3 separate regions of the Homo sapiens genome follow, and all the other regions are linked to region 2. The links are contacts of gene promoters, found by promoter capture Hi-C in human tissues and cell types (Jung and others, 2019). All regions are on one chromosome and are shown on one strand. Each heading gives the region's core, a stretch centred on a gene start or on the middle of the fragment in contact. The rest is flanking DNA. Distances are from core to core; before and after follow the strand shown. Region 1 overlaps IQANK1 (IQ motif and ankyrin repeat containing 1). Region 2 holds the start of EEF1D (eukaryotic translation elongation factor 1 delta). Region 3 overlaps LOC107986985 (a long non-coding RNA gene).

Region 1 (2,744 bases), core at 136-2,635, 180 kb before region 2:
ACACACACTGTTGGTGGGAGTATAAATTAGTTCAGCCACTGTGGAAAGCAGTATGGGAATTCCTCAAAGACCTAAAAGCAGAACTACCATTGGACCCAGCAATCCCATTACTGGGTATATACCCAGAGGAATATAAAGCAGTGTACCATAAAGACACATGCACGCATATGTTGACTGCAGCACTATTCACAATAGCAAAGACATGGACTCAACCTAAATGCCCATCAGTGACAGACAAGATAAAGAAAATGTGGTACATGCACACCGTGGAATACTATGCAGCCATAAAAAAAGAATGAGATCATGTCCTTTGCAGGAACATGGATGGAGCTGGAGGCCATTATCCTCAGCAAACTATCGCAGGAACAGAAAACCAAACACCACATGTTCTCACCTGTAAACGGGAGCTAAAGGATGAGAACTTAGGAACACAAAGAAGGAAACAACAGATACTAGGATCTACTTGAGGGTGGAGGGTGGGAGGAGGGAGGGGAGCAGAAAACTATTGGGTACTGGGCTTAGTTCCTGGTGAGGAAATAATCTGTACGACAAATCCCCATGACTATGTCACCTGCATAACAAACCTTCACATGTACCCCCAAACCTAAAAGAAAAGTTAAAAAAAGATGACTTAACATCTCTGTGCTTAAGTTTCTTTGTATATAATAAAGTCTTTGTATATAATGTAGGAATATTAATAATACTACAATCAGGTTTGTTGAGAGGATTAAACTGGGAACTTTATACATATTTCAGGAAAGTTTTGTAACTTGAAAAAAAGAAGGAAGCAAGCACTATAAAATTCAGGATATGATGATCTGGGGAGAGGTGTGGTGTTCTGGCGATACTTTATTTCTTGAGTCAGGTAGTTACTACATGAGTATTTCCTTTGTGGTAAATAATTGAGCCACAACTTTGATTTCTGCAATATTCTGTATGTCATTTGTAATTAAAAAGGAAAGTCTGAAGATGTATAAAATCAAGGAGTAGCTAAAATGAGAGAAGGGATGAATGGATAACTAGATAAATAGGATGGAAGAGTGAACAGACATACGAATGAGGCAATGATTTTGTAACTTAAAAGAAATTGTGATACTCATTTAAAATAATAATAGCTACCATTTCTTGAGAACTGACTTTGCACCAGGAATTGTGCCAAGGAATTTCATTCACTATCTCATGAATCTTCAAAAAGCTGTTATTAGTCCCATTTCTGAATATATGGAAACAGATTCAAATAAGCTTCAGAACTTGCCAAAGTTCTGTCTGTAAGTGGAAGAACTGGAGTAGACGGAAAATGAATGAAGACAGAAAATAAAAGGATAATATAACGAGTAAACTTACGAGTGTCTTAATGAATAGGCAATAAATGATGAATGAATGAGTAAATTAATGAATTAAACTATAAGAGAATGAAGATTAGATTAATTGAATGAACTGATTAAATGATGAACTGATACATGAAAAATTAATAGATGAATGAGTGTAAAGAATGGATACGTGAGATAAGCAAATGGTTAGTTGAGCAACTGGATGGATGAATTGATGGATGAATTCATCGTTCAACAAAATGTTTCAGTGCCTATCGTGGTCAACCAATACTGGGGCATACGATTAAGGGGTGAACGAGACACAGTCCTTCTTTGCTTTCTCATAATTTTCTGTCAAGTAAACAGCATGAATGCGTGTATGAATGGATGAATGGATGTCTGAATGAATAGTAGATAAAAAATAAGTGAATAATTATTTAAACATGGTGTAAGGGTGGAATGGGCACATTAATGAGTGGATAGCTTATAAGTTTATAAATTTATATATGTTTATAAGTTCATAAATTTATATATAAGCTTATAAATTTATTTATAAGTTTATAAATAAATGACTCATGGCTGGGCATGGTGGCTCACACCTGTAATCCCAGCACTTTGGGAGGCCGAGGCAGGCAGCCCACCTGAGGTCAGGAGTTCGAAACCAGCTGGCCAACATGGCAAAACCCCATCTCTACTTAACATACAAAAGAACAAATTAGCTGGGCGTGGTGGCGCATGCCTGTAGTCCCAGCTACTCTGGAGGCTGAGGCAGGAGAACCGCATAAACCCGGGAGGCAGAGGTTGCAGTGAGATTGCGCCACTGCCCTCCAGCCTGGGTGACAGAGCAAGACTCCATCTCTAAATAAATAAATAAATGACTCAAGTTAATAAGATAATTATGAATTGGCGAAAGCGCAAACCAATACTGGGGCGAGATGGATGAAGTGGGTGAATGTATGGAAACGATGACTGATGAATGATGAAGGGATGGTGATGGACAGCGTGGTTCAGCTCTTCGGTATCATCGCTGATATTCCGTCTACTTGTCTCATCAATTATGGGGAGAGAGAGATGGCAAAATCGCCTATTACCATTGTGGATCTCTTTATTTCTCCTTGTAGTTCTCATAGTTTTTGCTTCATGCATTTTGAAACCCTGTTAGTAGCTGCATGAACATTTAGGATTTTTATGTCCTCATGATGAATTCCTACATTTGTCATTACTAAATGATTCTTTTATCCTTAGTAACATACTTTTTTCTGAAATCTACTTGATGTTAATACAGTTACTTCAGCATCCTGTTTAGTGTTATCTTGGCATATTTGTTTTTATCATTTTAATTTTCAACTATTTGTGCTTTTACATTTAAAGCTTGTTTCTTATAGGTAGAACATAGTTAGCTACAATTTTTAATCCAAAATGACAATCCATCTT
Region 2 (3,081 bases), core at 15-2,514:
CTGCGCCCGGGGGCGCAGCCTGCTCCGGAAGCAGCTTCCAGTAGAGGCCGGTGACGCTGGCGCTGTAAATCTGCTCGTCCCCGTAGCCGCCCTCGGCCGGGGGCGGCGGGGCCGGGGCGCGGTCGGGCAGGGGGCCGGCGCCGGAGGGCAGCGCGGGCTCCTCCTTGACGGGCGGGCCGGGCGCGGGGCTCGGGGCTGGGGGCCCGGCCTCGCCGTAGAAGCGCTGGCTGGAGATGCCGTGGCGCTTCTGCCAGCGCCAGAACCAGCCGTGGCTGGCCTTGAAGGTGCACTCGGGCCCGTAGATCTGGCGCGCGAAGGCCTCGGCCTGCGCCTGGATGAGCGGGCCAGACAGCGGCACCCCGTGCTGGCGCAGCGCCAGGAACCAGGCGTACACGGCGCGGTCGATCTCCTCCTCGTTGGCCAGCCGCATCTTCTTGCGCTGAGTGCCCACCTCACCGCCCAGCTGCTCCAGGAACCAGCGCAGCTTGGGCTCGTCCTTGAGCCAGCCGCGCAGCGTCCCGCCCGGCACGCCGAAGTCGCGGCACACACTGGCCTGCCGCTCGCCGCCCTTGACGCGCTCGATGGCCTGCAGCTTGTCCTTGATGGAGTAGGCCTTGCGGAAGGCCATCTTCACGGCCACGCGGGGCCGCGGCCCGGGCGCGGGGGGCGGCGGCCGTGCAGCGGGGACGGGGGCTGGGGCGGGCGCGGGGGGCCCGGGCAGGGGACGGCGGCCGCGGCGCGGTACCGGGCCGGCCGGGGGGCCCGCGGGGTACATGGCTGCGGCGGGGGGGACCCGGGCCGCGCGGGTCGCGGGAGCCACACGCCCAGCCGCTCGGGGCGGGGCACTCGGGGGCGGGGCCGCACGGGTCCCTCCCCTTTGTCCCGCAGCTTGGCGGGCGCACGCGCGCTGACCTAGCCCGGCCCGGCCCCGCCCCGCGCCTGCGCGCTGGCCGCCTCGTGCGTCACTCGGCGCTTGCCGGCTGCCGGACCCGCCCCCACCGGCGACACCACTGGCCGCGAAGCGCAGGGGGGGCGCGCGCGCTGCCGCCCGTTCCCAGCACTTGTGCAGACTCCTCCGGGGAAGAGCGGCCTCCGCGGTCATCTCCAACGGAATTCTGCCTTTGAAGTGTCGGGGCACGGCGCGTCGAGGGTCCTGGCGGCCAGGCGGGGCGTGTGCAAGGGTCGCGTCCCCCCCCCGGGCCCCCGGCCCGTGGCTCTTGGTAGAGCCCAGTGCTTCATTTCCCGTGCGCGGCCCGGGCGGCCCTCCCTTTCATCAGTCTTCCCGCGTCCGCCGATTCCTCCTCCTTGGTCGCCGCGTCCTTGGCTGGCGTGTGAGTACCGCGGCCCCCGCCGGAAGGAGTCGGGCGCGACAGAGACGCCCGAGGGGCCGGGAGGGCGGGCGGCCCGGGCTGCGCCAGAAGCTCGCGCCGTTAGGGACTGAGGCACAAGTGCGCCAGCGCGGGCTTAGGGGCCGTGGGCCAAGTGCGGCACTTGGGGCGAGCGCAGAGAGGCGGGGCGACGGAGGCCACGTGGCCGGCTTGGAGGGCGTCCGCGGGACGGGGGCGCCGGGAGCACTGTCTCACGGCGCATCCCGGTCGTGGAAGCCCCTCGGCCAGGCTGCTGGGGCCTAAGGCCTGTGTTTGCTGCCGTCTCCGTGGGAGACCAGACATCTGCCCCAGCTGTTTCTCTGGCCTGCAGACCTTCGTACACCACGTCTTTGTCAAGCACCAGTTACTGCACGCATCAGCTGAGCACGGAGGGGATAGGCACGGACGCAACACTTTTGGAACTTAGACGCTAGTGAGCACGGAAAGGAATAAGCCTGTACTGTGACTGGGTCAAAATTTCTGTCTCTTGATTTGGATAGGGTGGTCGGGCAGTCTCTGAAGGGGGCGGGGATGCTGTTGCTAAGAAGTAGTACTTTCAGAGGCTTTAAGTGGAAGGAAGAAGGCAAAGGGGGCGGAGTGGGTTGGGGACCTGATGAGACGTCAGGATTGGTTTCCAGAATGAAGGACCGCCTGGCAGCAGAAGAACTGTGTAGCTAAACTTGGGGTTGTCCCTGCCCGACAGGGCGGGGTGCTTCTTAAGTTGACACTGCCTGCGGCTCACCTCCCAGGGAGGCAGGCCAGGCCATCTCACCTGAGCAGCCTCCTTCTACAGCTCCGCCCACCCCGTCATCTGGACCCCATGAGCCTTAAGCAGCTGGCTCGCAGGCAGTTGGTTACTTCCGGAGCCCGTGTGTGCCCAGCCCCGTTCTGGGGGTGGGGGATGCAGCTGAGGGGCTGGGCAGGTGTGGAAGGAGCCCCCGAGCGTCCTCTGAGGAAGTAGACGCTCACCTTCGCCTTCTCACCACATGCCTCAGGCCCAGCCAGGCTCCTAGACCTGCCTCTGTAGAGGCTTTCTGGGCGCAGTGCCAATCCTGTGAGACAGCAGCATCTCCCCTGGGCTGCTGCAGGGTTCACACGCAGTCAGTGCTGGCAGAGTGAGCGCCCAGCCGACAGAGCCCCCGCTGCCTCCCGCCTCCTCTGGAGGACTAGGCCCTCTGGGCTTTGCTCCCGGGTTGCTGGGTGAGGCTGCAAGGTTTAGCACAGGTGGGCACACGTGCTTGATGATGGACAAAGAGTACCTGGGCTGTGCCGTGCACTGGCGTCAGCCTTCTGGGGGCTGAGGACAGGAAATGTGGCATTGAGGATTTGTGGGTCATCATCCTGTGCCAGTGTGTTAAGGTGACATCAGCGTGTTGGAAGCTGGTGGCAGTGAGTTATGCTAAGTGCTGGTGTAGGAGCCTGCCACAGGTCTCCAGCTCTCCCACCTCGCTGACAGCCAAGGGTGCCGTGTGAGGTGTGGCGTGGGTATTGTCTGGGGTTCCAGAAAGCCTGTGCCGTGCTGGAGTCACCCAGGAGGCACAGGGGCTGCGCCGGGCAGGCAGGTCGGCCAGAGCCCCTCAAGCAGGGCTGGCCATGGAGCTGGCCTGCAGTGGCATTTAAGAAAAGACGTGGTTGGGGCGGGGCTTGGCCTGGGGCAGGGTGGGTTGGGTAGCTACAGTGAGTGCTCTGAGATATGCAGGACAGGCTGGCGTTT
Region 3 (2,954 bases), core at 319-2,818, 230 kb before region 2:
ACAAAGCAGTATTGCTGCCCGCAGGTCCCACCTCCAGCCCTAAGGCGGTTTTTCCCTATCTCAGTAGATGGAGCATGCAATCAGGTTTTATATGGAGACATTCCATTGCCCAGGGACGGGCAGGAGACAGATGCCTTCCTCTTGTCTCAACTGCAAGAGGCATTCCTTCCTCTTTTACTAATCCTCCTCAGCACAGACCCTTTACGGGTGTCGGGCTGGGGGACGGTCAGGTCTTTCCCATCCCACGAGGCCATATTTCAGACTATCACATGGGGAGAAACCTTGGACAATACCTGGCTTTCCTAGGCAGAGGTCCCTGCGGCCTTCCGCAGTTTTTGTGTCCCTGGGTACTTGAGATTAGGGAGTGGTGATGACTCTTAAGGAGCATGCTGCCTTCAAGCATCTGTTTAACAAAGCACATCTTGCACCGCCCTTAATCCATTCAACTCTGAGTTGACACAGCACATGTTTCAGAGAGCACGGGGTTGGGGGTAAGGTCATAGATTAACAGAGTCTCAAGGCAGAAGAATTTTCCTTAGTACAAAACAAAATGGAGTCTCCTATGTCTACTACTTTCTACACAGACACAGTAACAATCTGATCTCTCTTGCTTTTCCCCACAGTCTTTATGCTAACCTCACATATGCTTAACAGTGCGACTAGCTACAAAAAGCTTGGCTTGGTTGAAAATCATTTATTCCCAGGATTTCAAGGGTATTGTGTCATTTTCTTCTAGTTCCAAGAACTCTTGTGCCTTCCTGAATTCTGACTCTTTACCTATGATCTCTTCTTTTTCTTTGCCCCATTACTTGGGTAATTCTCAATGATGTGTCTTGATATACAACTTCCCTTTCACCCATTGTTCAGAAAACATGACTGTTTGGTTCTAGGAAATTTTCTTGATTTATCTCTGCTGATTTCTCTCATTTCCTTATTTTCTGGACAATTTATTTAGATGTTGGACTTCTGTTGAGTTTTTGTTGTTTTTTTGAGACAGGGTCTGGCTCTGTCACCCAGGCTGGAGTGCAGTGGTGTGATCACAGGGCACTGCAACCTCCACCTTCTGGGCTCCAGCAATCCTCCCACCTTAGCCTCTCTAGTAGCTAGGACTACAGGCGTGTGCCACCATGCCCAGCTGGTTTTTTAAAATTACTTTTTGTAGAGACGTGGCCTCACTATATTGCCCAAGCTGGTCTTGAACCCCTGGGCCCAAGTGATACTCCTGCCTCAGCCTCCTGAAGTGCTGGGAAGGCAGGCATGAGCCACTGTGCCTGACCTGGACTTCTCTTTTGAGATGCAGTCATGGTGGTGGCAAGAACACAGGCTCTGGAGCCATTCTACTGCTGCTCCCTGCCTTGTGATGTTGCCCATCAGTAAAAATGGGGTAACAGCTGTATCCATTGCATAGCACTGGGTTGTGAGGATCCCATGAATGAATGTGTGTAAGAACAGTCCTGGGCACCATGCATCCTGCGTGCACATTATTGCCAAGGGAAGCTGTCCCCAGAGGGTGGTGCCTGTGGCTTCCCCTGGTGGTGGTGGCAGACCAGCCCCCCACCTCCCATCCACCCCCTCCATTGTGGAGGCCTTGTGTGCCAGGCTAGCCCTAAGAGCACCCACCTGTGTTACTGCTATTCTGTTTTCCAGCTATCTGGTTCTGTCATTATACATTCTGGAAGACTTCATCTTAAAAGCCTATTGAATTGCTCACTTTCCCCTCATGTTTTATTTCTAAGAGCTCTTTCTCATCCCGAGGTTTCTTTCTCTATAGCCCCCAGTTCCTTTTTATTGACTGAGAATGGCATTTTAGTTTTCATTTTTCTTCGGCTTCCTTTATCGTCTCTGTTTCTTCTGAGTCCCTTTTCTTCTTTCTCAGGTGTCTGGTGATCCTGGGCTGTCCAGCTGCATTGAAGAGTGAGATGCTTTTAGTGGCTGGGGCTTATGACCTGGTGAGCTTCGAGGCCAGGGATCTGGCTGGGCCATTCTACTGGGCAACACTCTACCCCTAGGTGCCCTGCCAGTCTTTTCTTTTGAGCTAGGAGCTGCTGCAGAGAGGAGCCCTCTTCTCTGAGAAGCCTGATGGCATGCGGGTGGTCAGACCCAGCCCAGGGGTGGAGGCAGGGGTAGGACCCAGAGTCTCACTTACTCCCAGGCTTTCAGACAGGGCCTTGCTTGAGCAGGGCCTCAGAGCTCCTCTCCTGGAGCTCACGTCTCAGACACTGCAGTGCCTGCCAGCCCCGGTGGGTAGGGACAGAGGTCTGGGGTTTCCTTTCTGTAGCTGTGCTTTCACCCACGACCCTCAGACACTGGCCTCCATAGCCAAGTGGGCTGGAGTAGCTCTCGCTGTCCACCTTTCTTAAGCTCTGCAATATCCCAGCTCTTTGCCCTTGCAGGGTTTGTCTTTATAAAACCCCTTTCCTATAATTTTGGAAGGTTTCAGGAGGGAGGCGGGGAATATTCTGCCCTATTTAAGTAGAAGTGTCTGTATTAAATTCTAAATGTTCCCAGGGTTGAAAGGAGGCCTGCCCGGGATGCCTTGTGGCCTTAGGCAGCTGAAGGTGCCTGAGCTTACAGATGTGGCTTCTTCGGATGACCGAGTTGGGGTCTCGGGACTGGGTGCAGCAGATGGCAAATGTCCAGGACAGGCAGCTTTCCCAGCAGTACTGACAGACACCTTGGGCCATGAAAGCCAGTTCAGGGACTAACGGGGCCTGCGGGCTGCGGGTCTAGCGACTGATGTCAGCCAACCTAGGGTCATCGGTTCCCTGGAAGGAGAAAAAGCTGCCAATTGAACGGGGCCTCCCGGTCCCAGGGATGTCGCGACGCGGGGACGACGCATCTCACGACGTCAGCCTGAAACACGCGGGCCTTTCATCACCCGAGACTCCTCCAGCCCAGGAGGGCCCCGCTCTTTCGCCTGCCTCCTGGGGGAGAGCCTCTGGACGACGCACGCG

What was found. Contacts are between HindIII fragments. The study calls those that stand out against the background at their distance.
Region 1: a contact is called between a fragment that was not itself captured here and the fragment with the promoter of EEF1D in region 2, in 10 of the 25 tissues and cell types used here (IMR-90 fibroblasts, aorta, dorsolateral prefrontal cortex and 7 more).
Region 3: a fragment that was not itself captured here is called in contact with the fragment with the promoter of EEF1D in region 2 in 1 of the 25 tissues and cell types used here (dorsolateral prefrontal cortex).

Annotation. Positions count from the first base shown.
Region 1 is chr8:143,778,210-143,780,953 of GRCh38, reverse strand. All of the region lies in intron 7 of IQANK1 (IQ motif and ankyrin repeat containing 1), which reads right to left. Among named protein-coding and RNA genes, the nearest start is that of MIR937, 33 kb to the left of the region's middle. The HindIII fragment of the contact is 4,347 bases long and covers 1-2,744 here.
Region 2 is chr8:143,595,598-143,598,678 of GRCh38, reverse strand. It overlaps EEF1D (eukaryotic translation elongation factor 1 delta), which reads left to right and starts at 1,264. Exons shown (of 10, transcript NM_001130053.5): 1 at 1,264-1,331. TIGD5 (tigger transposable element derived 5) reads right to left here and starts at 848. Exons shown (of 1, transcript NM_032862.5): 1 at 1-848. The coding sequence starts at 775. RefSeq lists an enhancer at 2,017-2,616. The HindIII fragment of the contact is 45,525 bases long and covers 1-3,081 here.
Region 3 is chr8:143,829,657-143,832,610 of GRCh38, reverse strand. It overlaps LOC107986985 (a long non-coding RNA gene), which reads right to left. Exons shown (of 3, transcript XR_001746138.2): 2 at 2,573-2,765; 3 at 680-1,902. It also overlaps a transcript of NRBP2 not described here. Among named protein-coding and RNA genes, the nearest start is that of PUF60, 1.8 kb to the right of the region's middle. RefSeq lists enhancers at 2,005-2,954, 2,525-2,954. The HindIII fragment of the contact is 6,185 bases long and covers 1-2,954 here.